2 separate regions of the Homo sapiens genome follow, and region 1 is linked to region 2. Evidence: promoter capture Hi-C in human tissues and cell types (Jung and others, 2019). All regions are on one chromosome and are shown on one strand. The core of a region is centred on a gene start or on the middle of the fragment in contact, and the rest is flanking DNA. Distances in the headings are between cores, read along the strand shown. Region 1 has its middle 51 kb from the start of POU4F2. Region 2 holds the start of POU4F2 (POU class 4 homeobox 2).

Region 1 (3,222 bases), core at 79-2,578, 51 kb before region 2:
TATTGTCTGCTAGTGTGTAGCTGTGCTCCTAAAAGAGCTTTTAAACAGAACTACTTTAAATGTTCATAGAGTTGCACCAGAACAGGAGAACAGCATGAAATCCCATTATGTCGCAATCCTAGCTATTTGTTTGAGAAATCAGGGACAGGCTCAGCAGAGACATTTTTTTGGTGAGCAAGTGTGTCTTTTACTGCTTCCTCAAAAACCCTATCCACAACCCTCTTTATCCCTCTTATTCTCAGCATGTTACCTTACATCCTACCTCATCAAGAAAATAGAAGTGATCATCAGTAGTGCTTCTCTATGATCACTGAATTTCTGGATTTCCTGAAAATCTTTCCTGGCATCCATTTTTTCAATAATTGTGTGAGCTTCTAACTCCTTGGAATAATTCATTTTTGCTTGAAATTTCTGTATTATTTTGACTTATACAGGCTGCTTCCAATTCTTTTATTAAAATGATAAAAAACAATTTAAATAATCAATCTAGACTTGATGTCCAAAAATGTCTTTTCCAGAAACACATATTTGTTACTTGACACATTAATTGTATACATACGTAACAAGCATCTTAGTCTAAACATAGTCAAAATTGAGCTCCTGATTTTTCCTCCCAAGTCACCTTCTCCTGCAACCTTCACCAGCTCAATTTAAGACATCACCTTTCTCCACTTGCTCAGGCCAATCACTTTGGTGGCATCTTTAACTCCCTTACTTTTCTCATAACCCACATTCAGTGTATCTGCAAAACCTGGCAGTTCTACCTTTAAAATATATCTAGAAGGAGACCACTTCTCACCATCTGCTCTACTCCTTCTCTGGCCCAAGCCACTCAGCTATCATCTAGATTAGTGTACTAGCCTTGCTCTCTTCTGCCCACACCCTCTGCAGTCTATTCTCAGCGCAATAGCCAGAGTCATCCTGAAAAACTTAAGGCAAGTAATGTCATTTATCTTCTCAAAACCTTCCAGTGGCTTCTTCCTTACTAAGGGTAAAAGAAAAGCTGCTAACTCTTGCCTTTAAGATCCTATATGATCTGGCCTCTTTACCTCCCTAACTTTCATCACTTTTCACTCTCTCTCTTGTTCTCTCTGCACCAGTCACACTGGCTTCCTTCCTAGTCCTAGAACATGCAATTTATGCTGACAACTTCTTTGCTTCCTCATTTTGCTATCCTCCCTTTCCTTCAAAAAGTGTCTTCTCTTTGAGGCATTGCCTGGCCACATTACTTGAAATTCCAGTTTCTTCAACCCCTGATATCTTATATATGCCTTCTTTACTTTTTCTTTTCAGCACTTGAGACTATCCTCCATTCCATATATTTTAATTATTTGCATATTTATTCAATCTCCCCTTCCAGAAGATCCAGGAACACAAGATATTTTTTTCGTTTAATATTATGCCCCCAGCACCTAGGATAATGTCTGGCATATAGTAGGTGCTCAACATGTATTTGGTAGGTATTAAGTGATTCTTTTGGAAATGTTAACAGAGATAATTTCTATTGAAGTTGGTGCTGGTTTCTGGGGAAAACATCATGAAAGTAAGAGTATAAAAGTATTTCCTGCATTTACAGCATTTGGATGATTTACTTCAATCAAGAAATATTTAGTGAGGGCTAGGGTTGGTTCCAAGTCTTTGCTATTGTGAATAGTGCCGCAATAAACATACATGTGCATGTGTCTTTAGAGCAGCATGATTTATAATCCTTTCGGTATATACCCAGTAATGGGATGGCTAGGTCAAATGGTATTTCTAGTTCTAGATCTTTGAGGAATCACCACACTGTCTTCCACAATGGTTGAACTAGTTTACAGTCCCACCAACAGTGTAAAAGTGTTCCTATTTCTCCACATCCTCTCCAGCACCTGTTGTTTCCTGACTTTTTAATGATCACCATTCTAACTGGTATGAGATGGTATCCCATTGTGGTTTTGATTTGCATTTCTCTGATGGCCAGTGCTGATGAACATTTTTTCATGTGTCTGTTGGCTGCATAAATGTCTTCTTTTGAGAAGCGTCTGTTCATATCCTTCACCCACTTGTTGATGGGGTTGTTTTTTTCTGGTAAATTTGTTTGAGTTCTTTGTAGATTCTGGATATTAGTCCTTTGTCAGATGAGTAGATTGCAAACGTTTTTTCCCATTCTGTAGGTTGCCTGTTCACTCTGATGGTAGTTTCTTTTGCTGTGCAGAAGCTCTTTAGTTTAATTAGATCCCATTTGTCAATTTTGTCTTTTGTTGCCATTGCCTTTAGTGTTTTAGACATGAAGTCCTTGCCCATGCCTATGTCCTGAATGGTATTGCCTAGGTTTTCTTCTAGGGTTTTTATGGTTTTAGGAACTTAAAGTATAATAAAAATAAATAAATAAATAAAAAGAATTGAAAGGGGGAAAAAAGAGAGAATGTCAAAAGACAGAGGGAAGGGGGGATTACAAAGAGCTGCTCCTACTGCATTCTTTTTATATTAATGGTTAGTGAATACCAGTGTTAGACGTTCACATCACAGTACAAATAAGATGATTTGATTTTAATTTTTAGACAAAAGTAGTCTTTCTGCATTCTAGGTCATGCTGATAAAACCTTTTTTGAAAACCAAACTATTCATATAGTCTGTACCAAGCCTTACCTATACATGCAGCTAGAAAATACCTAGAGGACTTTATTCGTTAACAAATTATCACACATGCATGCTGCTCAGAGAGTATGTTTAAGATAGTGGTTAAAAGCACAGGCTCTGAAGCCATACTGCCTGAGTTTGTTTCCTTTCTGTGCCACTTTTCTATCTCTGTAACTCTTGTCAACTTGCCACTCTCTCTGTACTTCCATTCCTTCACCTGAGAACTGATAAGAGTAGGACTTACTACATAGGATGTTGTGAGGATGTTGTAAAGCATTTATTATTTGGTTCTATATTCAGTCTATTCTGATAACTAAGCAGTTGGGAGCAGAAATGAAAGACTTTAATTTCTAGGAGTTTTATCTCTGAAATTCTATCTCCTCTAACCTGGAAGAGCTTCTATTCTCTGCCCCTATGGCACCCTGTGCCACCCCCACCATAGCATATGTTACTGTGCAGTATCTATTGCCTCTCCCACCTACATTAAACTGTAAGCTTCATGAGGACAAAATGTGTGTCTATTTTATAATCATTATTGCTTCAATGCCTAGCATATAGGTTGTACTCGGTAAATATTTATTGGATGAATGTTAAATAAAATGT
Region 2 (3,085 bases), core at 375-2,874:
TTTGTCCCAGCGCGCGCCAGCGCCTCTCAGGCCTGCCGCCTGCTCTCGCACCTGCTCGCCTTCCCCAGGCGCCCAGTGCCTGCACCTGCTCCCGGTCAACCCCCGTCCGGATTGGGCCACCCGCGGGTTCCTGCGTCGGGGTCCCGGGGCCTTCTCACCCTCGCCTGCACCCTGCTCCTTCCGCTCTCTAGGGAGGTGACAGCAGCCCCCAACACCGCGGGAAGTATAGAGAAAATGGGATCCAGAAGGAGAGGAAGTAGTGTGTGTGTGTGTGTGTGTGTGTGTGTGTGTGTGTGACAGAGAGAGAGAGATAGATAGAAAGAGATTATCTCCTTTTGCAACTGGAACCAAGAGTGTGTGTCCATCTCTAGGAAAAGTGGTCTGCACTGGGACTGGGACAGAAGTGGGAGTGAAGTGTCAGCTAAAAATAGGCTCCGCACCGAGAGGCTGTGGAAATGAAGATAAGTGAGGTTTGTGCCAGCCCCCGAGGGTGTGTGTGTGTGTGTCTGTGTTGTGGGGTGTATTCAGCAGCATATGCGCTGTGTAATTTCTGACCTTCCCTCTCCCTGTCAGTTGCCCCTTCTTCCTTTGATTGTGGCTAATGAAGAATAATAAATCCAGGGGCAGGGTTTGCCAGTGGATCCTTCCAAGACTCAACTCGAACTGTACTGGATACAGGGAGGAGGAGGAAGAGAAAAGGGGGGCAAGAGGAGCGTGTGTGTGTGCCTGTGTGTATGTGTGTGTGTGTTGTGGGAGGGGTGGGGACAGCGGGGAGGGGGAGGAGTCGCATGCGCACAGACGACCCGAGCCTGCTCCGCGGCTGTCCAATCCGCTGAGAGCTGCGAGAAATCGAGTGAGAGAAAGCCCTGCAGCCCCTCCGACCCCATGTCTCTTTGGCACCAGGCACCCGCCGGGCCGTGGGGGGCTCGTAGCCGAACGCCGACCTCCGCTCGTATTGGGCTGGGAGTTCAGAGCCGCGCGCAGAACCCGGGTTGGCCGCAACGTCTGTGTTCTCAGCGGTGGCCGGGAACCTGGGATCAGGGTCACCTGAGCTGACGGGGTGGGGGCGGGCCGAGTGGGGTTGGAAGCCTGGAACTTAGTGGTAAGCAGGAGGCGTAGGAGGTGGCAGCCAGGTAAGAGGCACTCTTACCTACCCAACGCTGGCTTGGGCCGCAACTTTATTTGGGAGTTTCTTTTTCCGGTGAGACAGAGACCCGGCAGAAGAAGCGGGAGGGGCTGGAGGCTGGTCCTTAGGTAGGCACTGCCCGGCGACTGGAGCGCGGACCTGGCCATTTGGGTGGGGTTGAGTGGGGGCGCGATTGTGAGTAGCAGCCGCGGGACGCTGCGAAGGGGCGGCGGCAACAGAGCACGGGCGGGGGCAGAAAAGAGGCGGCGGAGGGCGCGGTGGGGGAGCGCGAGGCGAGTGCTGAGAGAGCAGAAAGGACTCAAGCCTGAGGGGAGTAGAGAGGAAGAAGGGGCAACGCGAGAAACCGAACAGGAGCCGGCGTTTCCTGGCAAGGGAGGGCGGAGGCGCGCGGGAGAGAGGGAGAGAGGGAGGGCGGGGGGCGCGGGGGTAGGCGCGGGGAGAGGGGAGTATAACTCGCCGGCCGCGAGGAGCGGGGGCAGTTTCGGGTGCCGAGGTCTGCAGCTAGCGGCAAGCGGAGTCAGGCATCCGTTCAGACTGACAGCAGAGGCGGCGAAGGAGCGCGTAGCCGAGATCAGGCGTACAGAGTCCGGAGGCGGCGGCGGGTGAGCTCAACTTCGCACAGCCCTTCCCAGCTCCAGCCCCGGCTGGCCCGGCACTTCTCGGAGGGTCCCGGCAGCCGGGACCAGTGAGTGCCTCTACGGACCAGCGCCCCGGCGGGCGGGAAGATGATGATGATGTCCCTGAACAGCAAGCAGGCGTTTAGCATGCCGCACGGCGGCAGCCTGCACGTGGAGCCCAAGTACTCGGCACTGCACAGCACCTCGCCGGGCTCCTCGGCTCCCATCGCGCCCTCGGCCAGCTCCCCCAGCAGCTCGAGCAACGCTGGTGGTGGCGGCGGCGGCGGCGGCGGCGGCGGCGGCGGCGGAGGCCGAAGCAGCAGCTCCAGCAGCAGTGGCAGCAGCGGCGGCGGGGGCTCGGAGGCTATGCGGAGAGCCTGTCTTCCAACCCCACCGGTGCGTATTTCTGCATAATCACCGCTTAAAGGCACATTTTGACAGCCCCCTTTATCTGCTTGATGTTTTTTTCATGTCTGCACAGCAAATCACCCCACACCTCCAACCAATTTTCCCCTCTCTCTCTCTTAAGTATTCAGCAGGTCTTGCCTTTCATATTAATTTTTATGACCTGGGATGTTGCCTGTGCGCGTGTTGTGTTGTGTTTCGTTGTGTCTACAGGCTCACTTTCCTCCTCCTCCTGCACTCTCGGCTTCTTTCTGTGGCTTCCCTCTTTTTCTCTTCACCTCTGTTTTCAGGATTATTATTATTATTATTTTAACGATCTGGGAATGTTGTAGGCGCGGCGACGGTGTCGAGCCCTGGGCCGGGGCTTCCGGAGAGAGGGCGTACAATTCCCTGCTGAGCGTAATGTGTGCCTTCTACTTACAATTGCAGAGCAATATATTCGGCGGGCTGGATGAGAGTCTGCTGGCCCGCGCCGAGGCTCTGGCAGCCGTGGACATCGTCTCCCAGAGCAAGAGCCACCACCACCATCCACCCCACCACAGCCCCTTCAAACCGGACGCCACCTACCACACTATGAATACCATCCCGTGCACGTCGGCCGCCTCTTCTTCATCGGTGCCCATCTCGCACCCTTCCGCGTTGGCGGGCACGCACCACCACCACCACCATCACCACCACCACCACCACCAACCGCACCAGGCGCTGGAGGGCGAGCTGCTGGAGCACCTGAGTCCCGGGCTGGCCCTGGGCGCTATGGCGGGCCCCGACGGCGCTGTGGTGTCCACGCCGGCTCACGCGCCGCACATGGCCACCATGAACCCCATGCACCAAGCAGCGCTCAGCATGGCCCACGCGCACGGGCTGCCGTCGCACATGGGCTGCATGAGCGACGTGGACGCCGACCCGCGGGACCTGG

The links. The method cuts DNA at HindIII sites, captures the fragments that hold promoters and counts their contacts. A contact is called where the count stands out against the background at its distance.
Region 1: a contact is called between a fragment that was not itself captured here and the fragment with the promoter of POU4F2 in region 2, in 2 of the 25 tissues and cell types used here (bladder and heart right ventricle).

The regions. Positions count from the first base shown.
Region 1 is chr4:146,586,141-146,589,362 of GRCh38, forward strand. No RefSeq gene overlaps it. Among named protein-coding and RNA genes, the nearest start is that of POU4F2, 51 kb to the right of the region's middle. The HindIII fragment of the contact is 4,220 bases long and covers 1-3,222 here.
Region 2 is chr4:146,637,269-146,640,353 of GRCh38, forward strand. POU4F2 (POU class 4 homeobox 2) reads left to right here and starts at 1,625. Exons shown (of 2, transcript NM_004575.3): 1 at 1,625-2,160; 2 at 2,599-3,085. The coding sequence starts at 1,873. RefSeq lists enhancers at 1-560, 561-1,142, 1,143-1,723, 1,724-2,305. The HindIII fragment of the contact is 18,734 bases long and covers 1-3,085 here.